Linked DNA regions of Homo sapiens: all the other regions are linked to region 2. The links are contacts of gene promoters, found by promoter capture Hi-C in blood cells and fetal thymus (Javierre and others, 2016). All regions are on one chromosome and are shown on one strand. The core of a region is centred on a gene start or on the middle of the fragment in contact, and the rest is flanking DNA. Distances in the headings are between cores, read along the strand shown. Region 1 overlaps ELAPOR1 (endosome-lysosome associated apoptosis and autophagy regulator 1). Region 2 holds the start of WDR47 (WD repeat domain 47). Region 3 overlaps STXBP3 (syntaxin binding protein 3). Region 4 overlaps AKNAD1 (AKNA domain containing 1).

Region 1 (4,402 bases), core at 113-2,612, 160 kb before region 2:
CATCTCCCCAGTCAGTTTAGGCGCAGCATATCCAAAACGTCTTCCTCAAGACGCTAGTGCCCGTCAAGATGTTAGCTGCTGTTATGCGGGGAGGGGAGGGGGTGTCCTGTGGTCATATTCATTTAGAAATTTTTGATTTAGTTCACTCAGCTATTAACCTCAGAACTGGGTATTTTCGTTGCAGAGAGATTCCTAGGATCCCTAAACCTTTACTAATCCTCATAATAGCCAGAGATCATGAAACGTCCTAAAGTCTCCTTGTCTCATTTAATCCTCAAAACAACCCGCTGAGGGAATTTAGCATTATGCCCATTTTTACAGATATGGAAAAAAGAGGCCTAAAGAAGGTAAGAAATGCATCCATGATAACATAGCTGGTTAGTGGAGGAGATGATTCAACCTGGCTCTCAGCCGAGCTGTTGGTTACCATGCTACGCAGCTGCTGCCTTAATGGACCAGGAATATGAGAATAGCTTTCACTCTTCCTTCTACCCCATTCTTGCCATATGAAGACTGAGGGTCTGGGGCCATGACTGTGCCCCTAAGCACCCATTAATGGATCTCAAACTCTTTTCTTTTTTGCTCTTTTTCAGTAATCTCTGGATCTCAGGATGGAATGACTTCAAGGGAGATTTTGGCCTTTGTTACATCCCTTTGCAGGGCTTACCCTGGCAGCAGCAAACTTCCAGGGACAGTTTTCTGTGGACTGCACCTGACGCGGATGGTGGTTGATCTCCCAGAACTGCAGGACTGGGTCACATCATTGGACCTGCAGAGAAAGCCAGCCCCCATGAGGGAATGAGTCACTCAGCTGTGTTATTGGACAGCCACCAAGAGAAATCCGCATGGAGCAATTCCCTTGCTGGGGAAGTCAGGACTTGGGCTTTAGCCTGGCACACAGGGAGTGCACAGGCCTTGGTTTATACGTGGAAAGGGTGGGGATCAACAATATGTAGTCAAGGGGGAAATGCCCTGGTTTAGGAAAGTCATGGCTAGCATACACTGGAGCCTGCTTAGGCTGGAAGGGAAGTCCACTGCAGATCATCCAATATTTCTCCTTGCCTCTAGGGCAGATCTGCTCCAGTAATATCCAGGAAGCTGGGATCAGGAACTCCCAGCCCTTAGCTATCATGACTGGGCAGATCTGCTAGACCTCAGACATGTTCTGGCTTGATAAGCAGTAGGTGGCTAGAGAGGGAGGGATGCAGCAGAAATTATGGAGGAGTCCTAGGTTTCACTTGCATTAGCCTAGCCTCTCATCTTCACCTATAAAAGAAGATCACGTCCGGTATTCCCAAGGACTCCAGGTGGAAAAGTTCAGCTGGGGAGGTGATTCCATCCAGAGTCATATCTGTTGTCACCCCTGCCAAATTAGAGCTCCTAATTAGTTCTCACTAGTAGCATTAGCTGGCAACCACTTCAATTCTTCCAATACCTGTCAACATCCAACCTCACTTCATCTCATCACATCCCTGAGTGGCTTATGAAAGGGTGAAACAAGGGTTTGTCAGAGTCCCTGGGAGCACTTTGCACACAGAGTGGAATAGAAAACACAGGTCAAGAGGTTGGGCCCCTCATGTGGGGCCTTTTACCTCCCAGACTGGTAACCTCACACTCTCTTACACATACACACACACACACACACACACACACTCTCAAACAAGGCTGAGGCAGCGGAGTTACTCACCAATAAGTCGATCAGCAAGGCTGACAGGCTGTGAGGAAACCCCGGCCTTGTAGCCTGTCACCTCTGGGGGGATGATGACTGCCTGGCAGACGTAGGCTGTGATAGATTTGGAGAACCCTGACTCACCCTCAGGAATCCGGAGGTCAGTGACATTGTCGGTGCACACAGACATTTTCCTACCCTGGTTGGGGAGTGGGGAGGAAGAAGTAGGAAGAAGTGAGTGGTCACAGAGGAATTCCCAGAAGGGAATAGGGAAGGCTTTTTTACATCTAAATTTTCAGCGTTTCAATGGTATGTTGTAGGGGAATGATTCATCCCAGGTCTAATGACGAGACAGATTTGATTTTTTTGTTTTGTTTTGTCTTTTTGAGACAGAGTCTTGATCTATTGCCCGGGCTGGAGTGCAATGGTGCAATCATAGCTCACTAAAGCCTTGAACTCCTGGGCTCAAGTGATCCTCCTGCCTCAGCCTCCTAAGTAGCTGGAACCGCAGGTTAATTTTTTTTTTTTTTTTTCGTAAAGATAGGGCCTCTCTGTGTTGTTCAGGCTGGTCTTGAACTCCTGGGCTCAAGCAATCTTCCTGCCTCAGTCTCCCAGAGTGTTGGGATTACAGGGGTGAGCCACTGTGCCCAGTCAACATTTTCAATGTTATAAATTTTATTATAAATGGTGCTGGCTGGGTGCAGTGACTCACACCTGTAATCCCAGCACTTCGGAAGGCCGAGGCAGGTGGATCATGAGGTCAAGAGATTGAGACCATCCTGGCCAACGTGGTGAAACCCCGTCTTTACTAAAAACACAAAAATTAGCTGGACGTGCTGGCGCATGCCTGTAGTCCCAGCTACTCGGGAGGCTGAGGCAGGAGAATCGCTTCAACCTGGGAGGCGGAGGTTGCAGTGAGCAGAGATCGTGCCACTGCACTCTAGCCTGGCAAAAGAGTGAGACTCCACCTCAAAAAAAAAAAAAGTGCTAAATCTGGTGTCTCAGCCTTTTTTTTTTTTTCTAGATTGTAGGAAGTAGATGAGCTTGAAAACTGAAGAAAACCTTTACATTACAATAAAATAGAGTTCTTTTGTCTTTGAACTAAGGATCTATCGTGTGGCAGTACATCATAAGCATTTCTAAACAGGAAAGGAGTAGATAAAAAAATACACCATTTCCCCAAATTCCCCACCTTCATTGCTCTCCATAATTCACTGAATGACACTTTTGCTACATGAAGCCTGCTTTAATCAGTCTTATTTCCTAAGTGATCATGACCTGTTACTTCTGAGGCTTCATTTTAACTTCTTCGAAGACTTCTGAAAACAAGATAGAGACACCTATCTCTAATCTTTCATAGATTAGTTTATTTCTTGACATGTTCTCTTTATAAACACCCATCGACTTCTTTGCATGCTGCAGAAGATGGGTCAGAGCTCTATGATGTAAAGGCCTTACCACCAACAGAGTCAAAGACTAGATGCTCAAGATGCTCTTTATATTGTCACTTTTTTTTTTAGATGGAGTCTTGCTGTGTTGTCCAGGCTGGAGTGCAGTGGCATGATCTTGGCTCACTGCAATCTCCGCCCCCTGGGTTCAAGTAATTCTCCTGCCTCAGCCTCCCGAGTAGCTGGGATTACAGATGTGTGCCACCATGCCGGGCTAATTTTTGTATTTTTAGTAGAAACAGGGTTTCACCATGTTGACCAGGCTGGTCTCGAACTCCAGACCTCAGGTGATCTGCCTGCCTTGGCCTCCAAATTGCTGGGATTACAGGCGTGAGCCACCATGCCCAGCCTCTTTTGTAACATTTGAAATGAACTTTCCAACTGCTAATTGTGGCTTGTTGCAATTTAATCAAGTGCAGTGGTGGGATTAACCTTTGCATTTCTGCCTTTGAATTTTGGATCTGAAATATTTGCAGCAGCATGAAATGGCTGATGGTGACAATCTTTCCTTATAAAGCATTTCATGTTACTTTCTTTCATACTGTCAGCAAAGAGACGTGTGGATGAACTAGAAACAGTTGATTTTATCCAGCCTCTAGAAAACAAGCGACAAATGCAGTGATTGCTGAAGACTGCTTTTTCAAGCAAGGGAAAAAAACCTTTCCTTCTGCATATTTCTGGGGTTTTTTTTGTTTGTTTTGTTTTTTGCTTTTTTGTTTTTTTTTTTTTTTGAGACGGAGTCTCACTCTGTCGCCCAGGCTGGAGTGTAGTGGCGTGATCTCCGCTCACTGCAAGCTCCGCCTGCCAGGTTTATGCCATTGTCCTGCCTCAGCCTCCTGAGTAGCTGGGACTACAGGTGCCCGCCACCACGCCCGGCTAATTTTTTTGTATTTTTAGTAGAGACAGGGTTTCACCGTGTTAGCCAGAATGGTCTCGATCTCCTGACCTCATGATCCACCCACCTAGGCCTCCCAAAGTGCTGGGTTTACAGGCGTGAGCCACCGCGCCTAGCCTTCCTCCTGCATATTTTTAAATAGACTCATTTTGAGGAAATAAAGGTCAGGTAAAAGAACACCTTATTTTATTTTATTTTATTGATTTTTTATTATTTTTCTGAGATGAAGTTTCACCTTTTTGCCCAGGCTGGAGTGCAATGGCGCAATCTCAGCTCACTGCAACCTCCACCTCTCAGGTTCAAGCGATTCTCCTGCCTCAGCCTCTCGAGTAGCTGGGATTACAGGCATGCACCACCACGCCCAGCTAATTTTTTTGTATTTTTAGTAGA
Region 2 (4,026 bases), core at 686-3,185:
TCTTCTAGCTGTTTGGAAATATAGAATAGATTATTGTTAACTATAGTCACCCAATTATGCTATTGAGCACTAGAATTTATTCCTGCTACATAACTGTATTTTTGTACCCATTAACCTCTTTATCCCCCCTTTGCCCTCCACTACACTTTCTAGCCTCTGGTAACCACCATTCTATTCACTACCTCCACGAGATCAATTCTTTTAGTTCCCACATATGTGTGAGAACGTGCAATATTTGTCTTTTTGTGCTTGTCTTGTTTCACTTAACATAATGTCCTCCCGTCCCATCCATGTTGCTGCAAATGACAGGATTTCATTCTTTCTTAATGGGTGAATAAGATTGTATTGTGTGGCCGGGCGCGGTGGCTCACGCCTGTAATCCCAGCACTTTGGGAGGCCGAGGCGGGTGGATCACGAGGTCAGGAGATCAAGACCATCCTGGCTAACACGGTGAAACCCCGTTTCTAATAAAAATACAAAAAAAAAAAAAAAAATTAGCCGGACCTGGTGGCGGGCGCCTGTAGTCCCAGCTACGCGGGAGGCTGAGGCAGGAGAATGGCGTGAACCCGGGAGGCGGAGTTTGCAGTGAGTCGAGATGGCGCCACTGCACTCCAGCCTGGGCGACAGAGCGAGACTCCGTCTCAAAAAAAAAAAAAAAAAAAAAAGATTGCATTGTGTATATGTACCACATTTTCTTTATCCATTTGTCTGTTGATTGACATAGGTTGATTCTATATTTTGGCTATTGTGAATAGTACTGCAATAAGCATGGGAGTGCCAGAAATATTTTTGATGTTTATTCTCTTTACCAGACTGTTACCCCATTTTCCCCTTTTGGGAGGTCCAGCTCACTCTGGACTTTCGCCTCTGTGAGGATGATGTTCTTTTTTCTGTGAGACGGAGTCTCTCGCTCTGTCACCCAGGCCGGAGTGCAGTGGCATGATCTCGGCTCACTGCAACCTCCGTCTCCCAGGTTGAAGCGATTCTCCTGCCTCAGCCTACCAAGTAGCTGTGATTACAGGAGGCTTGCCAGCACACCCGGCTAATTTTTGTATTTTTAGTAGAGACGGGGTTTCACCATGTTGGCCAGGCTGGTCTCAAACTCCTGACCTCAGGTGATCCGCCCGCCTCGGCCTCCTAAAGTGCTGGAATTGCAGGCGTGAGCCACCGCGCCTGGCCGAGAATGATGTTCTTACAGGTTTGTGTAATTGTATTCTTCCTTATGGTTATACTTCCTGGATGCTTAATTAAGCTCGGTTGAACATCACGTATATTTGTGGAATAAGGGGCTTACAACCAACAGGAGTAGACAAAACCTGAACATATTAAATGTTAAGTAACTGAAAAATGCTTTCAAGGCAGATCAGCTTTGCAAAATGAGAAACCAGGAAGGGGACAAACAAACTACTGGAGTTTTCTGGGACGAAGTGGGACCTAGGAAAGCAGCGAAAGAAGGGTAGAAGGCAACATTAATTTCATTAACCTTTATTAATTATCGGGGAGGAGTATGAAGAGTCAATCCTAATGCGCAGTCTTCTCCATTTGCAGGCGACAATCCTGTTCGTGCTATTTTGGGACATGGGGTCACCGGCCAGCTAAGGGTCTACGTCCCTGCCACCAGTCTCACGCTATTGCCGCACCCGTTCTGCTACTCCCCCGGGCCCCTAGCCGGTCCCTCCAAGCCCGACCCCCGCCCGCCCCGCCCAGGCTTTGGTCCGCCCCGCCCAGGCTTTGGTCCGCCCCGCCCCTCCCCGCCCCAGCTTTGGGCCCGCCCCTCCACGCCCCTCCCCGCCCCGCCCCGCCCCGCCGACTCGCCCTTCGGCTCAGGCACCTGCCTGGCCGCCCCGCGCGGCGGGGTCCTGAGGCGCCTCGGGGAAGCGCGGCGATTGGCTGCCGCTCGCGGGTAGAGCTCGGCTCCCCGGCACTTGACAACCGCAGTCTGCAAGAGGCTGAGCTGAGGAGTCGCTGGGCCGGGAGGGGCGGACGTGAGAAGGACGGATTGACGAACTGATGGATTGACGCGCGGGCGGTAGGAGGGAGGACCGACGCCAAACCCAGACCGCCGCCGTCGTGCTCCTGCCGCAGCCCGGAGCCGGCCGCTTCGGGGCCCTGGCCGCCGGCCTCCCAGCCGCGTTCTCCTCCGCCGCTCCTCCGGGCTTGCCCTGGAGCCCTCAGGTGGGTGACTCCGGGAGTCGGAGGCTGGGTCGGTCCGCTGCACACCTCGGGTTGCCATGGTCACCCGTCGCCTCCTGTCACCACCTGACACGGCTCCGACCGGGCGGCCCCGAGGACTGTGTTTGCGGCCCCGGAGAGGGGTCTTTAGTGGGCTTGGGTGCCGACTGGGAGGGGGCTGGGGTCGTGGGTGAGGCCCCAGCATCGCGGGGTGAGGATCTGCGAACTGCTGGGCCCCGGTTCGAGGTCACCGGTCCTGGACCACACCTTTCCCACATTACCAGTTGGATTCTGGGGGCAGAGCGACGCCCCTCGCCCTGGCACTGAGCAGCAAGTGAGCGCGAGGTTCGTGCCCATCTCGCCGCTGCGCCGATTCTTCCTTCCTCGCCCCTTGGTCGAGCCCGTGCGAGAACTGAGGGGCGCGCTCGCGTCCCTTTCTGGGCACGCCTTGGCCCGGAGGAAGAGAGGGAGCGGCGGGGCTGGGAGCCCCGCTGGGGCCGGTTTTGGCCTTTCTCACATCAATGGTCGGGATGGGAGCAGGCCTTTGGGGATCTGGGTGTGGTCGCGGAAAGGGGCAGCGACTCGATTTAGAACTGGGATTGCGCTGGAGGGGCGCCTGCGTAGAAGAACGCAAGGTTGTGGAACTCAAAGGGTTAAACCGCTTCCCTTTATTGGGGAGAAAAATATTGGAACTCTAGCTCTGGGGCGAGGCCATGGGCAAAGGGGGCGGGGGCGGGGGGCGAGGGTAGGCCGGGGCGGCATTTGGGCTTTTGACCAGATGATTTTTCCTTCTCTGTACCCAGACGTGCAGTTAGTAACCGTGCATGGTATCTGAGGGGACCGTTTTTTTTTTTTGGCAACTTGGTTTTCTCTGCATAATGAAAGGAGAAGTCTTTGTTCCACCCAGATTCGTAGGTTGTGATCCTAATACTTATTTCTCTCTTTGTTGGAGACTCTGTAGAATGCCTCAAAAAGTTAATGGCACAGAAATGAACATGTAGGTTTAAAAAATGCTATAAATCTTTTTTTCACAGTAAATTCAAGTAGAATTTTTTTGTCTCCAGTGTTGGCATATGTTGCATTGGCATTTTACTAAGAAGGAGAAACGCCTAAGAGCCCATTTTCCTTTATATGGCATATTGTCGAGGTCTCATTTAGGAAGAAGATGAAATGAATAATTCTACTTTAGGTTTGGGAGATTAGGAGAGATTGCTTCCAATAGGAAAGAAACATTATTACACGGTAATGGAAAAGTCAAGTCACAACAGTATATTGTTAGGTAAAAAAGCCAAAACCCAAACACTTGAATTTGGATGCCATTATGAAGATGTAAATTTTTTTTTTTTTTTGGACGGGATTTTAACCTGTGTTTATCTCCCACTGGTCCACTTCCTGGTTCTTTTCTCCCTCGCCTTAAAAACCAGTACTGTTAAGAATGTGTCATAAGAGAACAGGGGTACTATCCTATGTTACTACTTACATAATGGTGTTCAACCTCTTTTCCTGTTTGTGAAATAGAATATATTAGTTATTTAATGGGCGGCATATGAAATGCTTAATGTATGCTGCAGTTTCAGAAACGCTTTAGTTATGAAAAGATGTGCAGTTTTCCTTAGTAGATCAGTAAGCTGAAAAATCAGATTACCTGTATTTAAGCTTTCTTTTGCTACTGATTGCATTCTTGTAAGAGCTGCTAAGCTTAACATTGACTGATTTCTCATTCTGTAAAATGGTGATGCTTGCTATTGTTTTAGTCTGAGAATGGGCTTTGAGTTGAAAGCACTTTGGAAGGCATCTGTTGATTACCTTTTTTTTTTTTTTTTTTTTTTGAGACGGAGTCTCACTCTGTCATCC
Region 3 (4,438 bases), core at 370-2,869, 250 kb after region 2:
TGAGACAGAGTCTCACTCTGTTGCCCAGCCTCCTGAGTAGCTGGAGCCACAGGTGTGTGCCATCACACATGGCTAATTTTTGTATTTTTAGTAGAGATGGGGTTTCGCCATGTTGGCCAGGCTGGTCTTGAACTCCTAGCCACATGTGATTCGCCTGCCTTGGCCACTCAAAGTGCTGGGATTACAGGCACGAGCCACCATGCCCAGCCCCATAAATCAAGTCTTAACATATTTTAAAAGACTGATGTCATATAGTGCACATTCTCTGACCACTGTATAATTAAATTACAACTCAGTAACAGAAAGATAACTAGAAAATTCCCAAATGCTTTGAAATTTAAAAACGTATTCCCTATATAACACATGGGTCAAAGAAGAAATCATAATAAGGGTTAGAAAATGTTTTGAACTAAATGAAAATAAGTTATTCCAAAACTCCTGGGATGCAGCTAAGTTTGAAGATGTAAATAACTATAAAATATATACAATAGAACAGAAGAAAGGTTGGAAATCAATGTTCTAAAACTCCAACTCAGGAAGCTAGAAGAAAAAATTTAAACCAGGGGTGTCCGATATTTTGGCTTCCCTGGGCCACACTGGAAGAAGAACTGTCTTGGGCCACATATAAAATACACTAACAATAGCTGATGAGGTTAAAAAAAAAATCACAAAAACATCTCATAATGTTTTAAGAAAGTTTACAAATTTGTGTTGGGCCACATTCACAGCCGTCCTGGGCTGTATGTGACCCATGGGCCACAGGTTGGACAAGCTTCATTTAAAACAAAGTAAGCTGAAGGAAGGAAATAAAACTGAGTAAAAATCAGCTAATTAAAGATAAAACATGCAAGAGTGAAAATCAACAAAGACAAATGTTGGTTCTTTGAAATATTAATAACATATGCAGTGAATTTTATTTTATTTTTTTTTACATGGAGTCTCACTCTTTTCTCCAGGCTGAAGTGCAGTGGCACTATCTTGGCTCACTGCAACCTCCGTCTCCCAGGTTCAAGCAATTCTCCTGCCTCAGCTTCCCGAGTAGCTGGGATACAGGTAGGCACCATCAAGCTCGGCTAATTTTTGTATTTTTTTTAGTAGAGACAGGGTTTCACCATGTTGGCCAGACTGGTCTCAAACTCCTGACCTCAGGTGATCCGTCTGCCTTGGCCTCCCCAAGTGCTGGGATTACAGACGTGAGCCACCGTGCCCGGACTGCAGGGGATATTAATAATATATAGGGGAATAAACAAATTAACAATAGCAAGATTAGTAAATAAAATCTAACTATAGATTCTACACATATTGAAAGGATAAGAGGACATTTCAAAATTTAGATATAATAGACAAATTCCCTGAAAAATGCGATATCCCAAAACTAATGAAGAAAAAGTAAAAAACTAAATAGTTCTATATCTATTAAATAACTTATCATTAATTATAACGAAAGACCTCCCCATAAAGAAGTCTCTATGCCTGAACTGCTTCAATGGTGAATTCTTTCAAGCAGCAATAGAACAAGCAGTAACAATCTTACACAAACTCTTTCAGAGAATGGAATGACAAAGTGTGCATCACAATTCATTTCATAAGACCAAAAAAATCTTGCTGCTAAAACCTGACAAGAACATTACAAAAAAGGACTATTACAGAAAAGTATTTCTCATAAATATAGAAGCAAATATCCTACAACAAAATATTAGCAAACAAAATCCAGTGATAGAGGAAAAGGATGATGCATCATGATCAAGTGGAGTTTATTCTAGAAATGGTTACTTTTATGTTAGTAAGTCAATAAATGTAATTCATCACATTAACAGAATAAAGGGGAAAAAAAGACAATATCAAAATGCCTTTGATGAAATCCAACATCGAAATTTCCTGATTAAAAGAAAACAGAAACAGGCTGGGTGTGGTGGCTCACGCCTGTAATCTCAGCATTTCGAGAGGCTGAGGCAGGAGGATTGTCTGAGCTCAGGAGTTCGAGACCAGCCTGAGCAATATGGTGAAATTCTGTCTCTATTAAAAACACACAAAAATTAGCTGGGCATGGTGGTGCACACCTGTAATTCCAGCTGCTTGGGGGCCTGAGGTGGGAGGATCGTTTGAGCCCAAGAGGTTGAGGCTGCAGTGAGTTGAGACTGCACCACTGCACTCCAGCCTGGGTGACAGAACAAGACCCTGTCTCTTAAAAAAAAGAAAAAAGAAAAAAACAAAAAACAGAAACACATAAAAACCTGTTGGTAAACTAAGAATAGAAAGGAACATCCTTAATCTGATAAAAGAAAACTACCTAAAACTAACATAATACTTAATGATGAAATATTGAACTCATTTCCCATAAAGCTGGGAATGAGACAAGGACGCTCATTATCACCAGTTTGATTTCATGTTATACTGGAGGTATCAGCCAGAACCAGGAGGTATTAACTACTAAAAAAAAAAAATTTTAAACGTATGACAAGCTTGTCTAACCCACCTTATTTTGTTGTTGTTGTTGTTCTGTTTTGTTTTAGGCTTTTTGCAGCCTGAAGCCATGGTTTTTAGTTTCTGTCTCTAGTGATAAGTGGAAAAGAGGGATAAGGAAGGGACTTTACTAGCCGAAACAGAAACTAAGAACCCATGACTGTATTCTCTCCTTTGGACACCTCTGGAAGATTAATTTAGAAAGGAAGACACTAAATTTTCTTTATTCACAGATTATATTACTGTGTATATAAAAATCCAGCTAGGTGCACTGGTACCTGCCTGTAGTCCCAGCTACTAGGGAGGCAAGGGTGGGGGGATTGCTTGAATTCAGAGACTAGCCTGGCCAACAGAGTTCCGATCTCTTAAAAACAAAAAAGCCAATCTATAAACAAAGTACTAGAATTAAAAAATAAATTTAGCAAGGTCACCAGATCCAAGGTAAATATACAAAAATCAATCACATTTTATATACTAATAAAGTAAAATGGAATTTAAAAAATACCATTTATAACACCAAAAAATCAAATACCTAGAAATAAAGAAAAAATGTGCAATACCACTAAAATGAAAATTATAAAATGCGGCTGAGATAAACTATCTACATAAGTGGAGCTATATTCTATGTTCTTGGATCAGAAGATGCAATATTTTTGTCAGTTCTTCCCAAATTAGTGTACAGATTCATGTAATCCCAATCAAAATTTCAGTTAAATGTTTCTGTTGAAATTGTCAAGCAGAATCTAAAATGTGTATTAAAAGACAAAGGTTGTAACAGCTGAGACAATCTTGAAGAACAAAGCTGGAAGACTTATACTACCAAATTTCAAAACCATTACAAAGGTACACTAGTTAAGACAGTGTGGTCTTGTTACAAGGATAGACAAATTGACCATGGAAAAGGACATGGAGTCCACAGACCCACACATTTATGGTCACTTGATTCACAACAAATGCATTACTGCAACTCAATGGTGAAAGGATGGTCTTTACAATAAACAGTGCTTGAGTAATCAGATATGTATATCGAAATAAAATGAAGCTAGACCCTTACCTCACACCATAAATCAAAATTAATTTGAGTGAATGGCATGGTTTGGCTCTGTGTCTCCACCCAAATCTCACCTTGAATTGTAATAATCCCCACGCGTCAAGGGCAGGACCAAGTGGAGATAACTGAATAATGGGGGCAGTTTCCCCCATGCTGTTCTTGTGATAGTGAGTGAGTTCTCATGAGATCCGATGGTCTTATAAGGGGCTTCCTCCTTCACTCGGCATTCTTTCTCTCCCCTGCCACCCTGTGAAGAGGTGCCTTTCACCATGACTATAAGTTTCCTGAGGCCTCTGCAGCCATATGGAACTGTGAGTCAACTGAATCTCTTTATAAATTACCCAGTCTCAGGTATTTCTTCATAAAAGCGTGAGAATGGACTAATACAGTTTTGGTACCAGGAGTGGGGTGCTACTGTGAAGACACCTGAAAATGTGGAAGAAACTTTGGAACTGGGTAACAGGCAGAGGTTGAACAGTTTGGAGGGCTCAGAAGAAGACAGGAAAATGTGGGAAAGTTTGGAACTTCCTAGAAACTTGAGTGATTTTGGCCAAAATGCTGACAGTGATATGGATAATCAAATCCAGGCTGAGGTGGTATCAGCTGGAGATGATAAACTTCTTGGGAACTAGAGCAAAGGTGACTCTTGCTATGCTTTAGCAGAGATTAGTGGCATTTTGTCCTTGCCCTAGAGATCTGGGGAACTTTGATCTCAAGAGAGATGATTTAGGGTTATCTGGCAGAAGAAACTTCTCAGCAGTCATTTATTCAAGAGGTGACAGAGCATAAAAGTTTGAAAAATCTGCAGCCTGACGATATGATAGAAAAACCCATTTTCGGGGGAGAAATTCAAGCTGGCTGCTGAAATCTGCATAAGAAACAAGGAGCCAAATGTTAATCACCAAAACAACGGGGAAAATGTCT
Region 4 (3,882 bases), core at 290-2,789, 210 kb after region 2:
TGGGTGGTAACAGCCCTCACAGGTCAGTGGAGTAATTGTTTTGTGTTAAAGAGGGACATATAACCAATCATTTAGGCCCCCAGACAGTCCCTAAACCCTGTTTTAATTCATAGTTGAATATATTTATTTAGAAAGGCTTTTAGAGCTCTACTAGCCAGCGGTCAGATTAATAGATCTAAAAATTATGTTCCTAAATCTGTTCATTATCTGGCGAAGCTTGGAGTAATTTGAAACTAAGGGAAAGATAAAAAGGGGAGAGTATTCTGTCATCTGTACACCAGATTTTAAAATCTGTTTAGAGGAGGAAGGAAGCAAGCCAGGGTGGAAACTTCCATTCTTCAGCCCAGGCCATTAGAGGCGCAGCCCCGACTGAGTGACACATCAGAACTAAGGATGGGCTCTTTCTTCTTTCCCTCCTGTCCCCCTGCGCCTCCCTTTCCCCAACTGGAGGAGAGGTTTGGCGAGTCTCTCTGCCTGAGGTGGCAAGTTCAGCCGGACCTCAGCTGCTTGCTGGGCTGTGCGTGTGCAGCCGCGGCGTGAGTCACATCCTCTATCACATCTCCATCTGTGTGCTTTGTGGCGCAGGAGGATCCCAACGGCACTCCAAGAAGGCAGGATTGTGCAGAGATGACGGCACCCAGTCCGAGCTGTGCCTTCTGTCGCAGGCTCCTTGAATGGTGAGGGCTTCTTGTGGCTACATTCCCAGGGTGGATTGGAGTCAGTCCTGGCATAGTAACTCCAGTGAGAGTGGGCGGCAACTAACTGAGGCCACTGGCTGAGTTATAGAGTCACAGATCTCAGGCCTGGGCACAGAGCCCAGCCTCCCTCGCACCCTACAGATCCTCTAGCAGTGGTCCTCAACTGGGGAGACCATCAAAATCACCATGGGAGATTTTACAATCATGCACATGCCTCCATCCCACCTACTGTCTCAGCATCGCCAGCGGTGGGGCTCTGGTAGGAATATTGCTTTTAAATCTCCCCAGGTGATTCCGATAAGCCCCCTTGGTTAAGAATCATGGTTACAGCCCACGGAGGGTGGTCCTGTAGGCTTTTGATCATTGCCCACATGGGGGATTCTTATCCTGTATAACAAACAGCTCCCACCATCCCTACTCTCTCCTTATGATGAGCAAAAGTCTTCTCTGTTGGGTTTCACCTGAGCCCCCCAGTCCCAGGAACAAGCCTCATCCCTCTTCTCAGGGCTGATTTCTTCCCATTCCTAAGGACGAAATCTTCCAGAGCTAACAAGCTGTAAATCATGTAAAATCCTCAGGAGAAATCCTTTGTTTTTGAAACACCCATTGGTGCAACTATTAATCTGTGTCGATTCAGTATCATTTATTTGAAGCTTCTTTCAGGTAGCGAGAGATGTTACCTCTAAGCTCACTGTGGACTCCGGCCAAAGCTCGGCTCATTGACCTTTGGAAGGTCAAGAGTCAGGGAGGCAGCAGGTGTTTAGCAACCACTGTTATATGTACGTAATGGATTCTAATAGAAGCAGATGACAGGGTCTGAAAGACTGAGGCTTCCTGTTAGAAAGCATTCCATTGTGGGAATGGGCACCTGCCTTAAGAGTTCTAATGAGTGTCCACCCCTGAAAAAAGAAACTGCATGAAGCTCGTGCTAAAAATGGTCATGTGTCATTGTGTGTGGGTCATTAAACCACCATGTCAGTCATCAGCTTTGAGCTGCCCTTTAATCCAAGGGGCACTCATGAAGCTTACTCACTGAGTCATCCCAGGCCTACTATTTTTATTTATTGAATTAAAGTCTAATTTTGGATTTTTAAAGGTTTTACTAAGTATAATGAAAGTATTTTGACATTAAAGAACCATTTTTATTAAGCACTCAAGGTACTAAATTTCTCTCTTCTAAATTCCTAGTCTAGACCCTACAGAAGTACATTAAGTACCAAGACAGGGACCAATGTTCCAGACTAAATAATACTTTTTTATGATAGACAAGCTGGAAAGACAAGCACAACCAAGTGTAAAATCAAATCTCACAGTGAATCCACTGCTGGGGAGTGATGAGAAGATACACATGACTTATGAATTAAAATCTTGTAACTTACATAATCCCTGAGGAATTATTGATTGAAGGGAGGACTATATATTCTTTCTGTTAGAAGATTAAATCTCTCTCTGATGGGACTTGTCCTTTATGAAGCTTGCTGAGGTACATACTGTTTTCAGGATATTTGTAAATTGTTTATATATAAGTGGATAAATTACATATGTATAAAATGTAAAATATGCTTATCCCTTTATGTTATTTCTGATGCAAAACTTTGGATTTAAGTGTGTACTTTAGCTGCTTTGTCTTGTTGAAAAACTGTCTTCTCCAGAGGAATTATGTTTGGCCAGAAGATTTGAGTACACAAAGGAGTTTAAAAGCAGAAAAAGTCCTGTGTTGGACTGCATGCACTTGAGTGAGATCCAAGTTTCCCACTTTGGAGAGCAGATGTTCAAATGCCCCAGAGGAGAAGGGTGGAGACAGAAAATGAGGTGTGAGAAAATATGTGACTCAAGAGGACAGCATGTTTTTCCAAGAGGAGGGAAAGAGCCTGGCTTCTCAGCCCCAGCCCCACAAACCCGCAGCCCCATCCCTTCTCCGCCAACAGCAGGCCAGGGCACAGCGCGGCGAGCATGTGTTTGCCCAGCAATGCCTTGGGCTCAAACCCTAGCCCTGGGCAATCTGCCTCATTTATGCCAGGATATCTCGGGCACAGTGCCTTCCATACTAAGAATGAACAACTTTCCCTGGGGGCTATGACTGTATCCCAGGAGCTTAGCAAGAGCTTTGTTCAGAACTGTTATTAATTCGAATTCCTTTGGAGGAGTTGGGATTTCTGAGGAGGAGGGAGGAAGCTGCAGGTGGGCCACAGGAAGGCTCCTGAACAATGTCCATTGCAGTTGCTTCTTTCTGACGCCACCTGGTGGCCATGTGCAACTAAAATCACCTTCACGTGCTCCCTCAGCCTTTAGTCCCACAGACACCCGGCAAAGCCCACTTTGCTGGAGTTGTTGGATGTAATCAGCTTGTACTTCCAGGACCAAAGCTACGTGACCCATTACTGACGTATAGCATAGTTTCTTCCCCTGGTAGGAACTGTTTGTTTGTTTGTTTGTTTGTTTGTTTGTTTTTGAGATGAGGTTTTGCCATGTTGCCCTGGCTGACCTTGAACTCCTAGTCTCAAGCCATCCACCCTCCTTGGCCTCCCAAAGTGCTGGGATTACAGGCATGAGCCACCATACCCAGCCTGGAATGGATTTTGATGCATGAGGAAAACTCCAAATTTTATAATTCCATACTTCAAATGTGTTTTGTGAATGTGTATGTGATGATTAGATATTAACCTCGGCAGAACAAAACATTTATTTTTCATGTCTTGTATACATTTTCTTTTTTTTTTTTTTGAGTAGGAGTCTCGCTCTGTCACCCAGGCTGGAGTGCAGTGGCGCGATCTCGGCTCACTGCAAGCTCCGCCTCCCGGGTTCCCGCCATTCTCCTGCCTCAGCCTCCCGAGTAGCTGGGACTACAGGCACCCACTACGGCGCCCAGCTAATTTTTTGTACTTTTAGTAGAGACAGGGTTTCACCGTGTTAGCCAGGATGGTCTCGATCTCCTGACCTCGTGATCCGCCCGCCTCAGCCTCCCAAAGTGCTGGGATTACAGGCGTGAGCCACCGCGCCTGGCCTGTCTTGTATACATTTTCTTATCAGGCCAAATTGTGCTGGGGTGCAATTTCTTGTAGAAAAGCTCTCAAACAGGCAGGCAGAGGAGAGCTCTGTGTAGAGGATGACAAGCCCCTCCTACACTGTTCCAGGCTCTAATATAACAAAATTTAACGTTTCAACTTTACCAAAACTTTCCCTA

The links. The method cuts DNA at HindIII sites, captures the fragments that hold promoters and counts their contacts. A CHiCAGO score of 5 or more calls a contact.
Region 1: a contact is called between a fragment that was not itself captured here and the fragment with the promoter of WDR47 in region 2, in 1 of 17 cell types (neutrophils). The highest score is 5.4, in neutrophils.
Region 3: a fragment that was not itself captured here is called in contact with the fragment with the promoter of WDR47 in region 2 in 1 of 17 cell types (M2 macrophages); the score reaches 5.4 in M2 macrophages.
Region 4: a contact is called between a fragment that was not itself captured here and the fragment with the promoter of WDR47 in region 2, in 2 of 17 cell types (erythroblasts and total CD8 T cells). The highest score is 6.6, in erythroblasts.

What each region holds. Positions count from the first base shown.
Region 1 is chr1:109,194,940-109,199,341 of GRCh38, reverse strand. It overlaps ELAPOR1 (endosome-lysosome associated apoptosis and autophagy regulator 1), which reads right to left. Exons shown (of 22, transcript NM_020775.5): 16 at 1,688-1,868; 17 at 1,267-1,363; 18 at 668-769. Among named protein-coding and RNA genes, the nearest start is that of SARS1, 17 kb to the left of the region's middle. RefSeq lists an enhancer at 806-2,005. The HindIII fragment of the contact is 6,896 bases long and covers 1-4,402 here.
Region 2 is chr1:109,040,011-109,044,036 of GRCh38, reverse strand. It overlaps WDR47 (WD repeat domain 47), which reads left to right and starts at 1,935. Exons shown (of 15, transcript NM_001142551.2): 1 at 1,935-2,175. RefSeq lists a silencer at 1,738-2,287. The HindIII fragment of the contact is 10,570 bases long and covers 1-3,830 here.
Region 3 is chr1:108,785,555-108,789,992 of GRCh38, reverse strand. All of the region lies in intron 11 of STXBP3 (syntaxin binding protein 3), which reads right to left. Among named protein-coding and RNA genes, the nearest start is that of STXBP3, 41 kb to the right of the region's middle. The HindIII fragment of the contact is 1,690 bases long and covers 775-2,464 here.
Region 4 is chr1:108,827,354-108,831,235 of GRCh38, reverse strand. It overlaps AKNAD1 (AKNA domain containing 1), which reads left to right. Exons shown (of 16, transcript NM_152763.5): 10 at 586-677. All of the region lies in intron 2 of LOC105378891 (a long non-coding RNA gene), which reads right to left. Among named protein-coding and RNA genes, the nearest start is that of AKNAD1, 28 kb to the left of the region's middle. The HindIII fragment of the contact is 371 bases long and covers 1,354-1,724 here.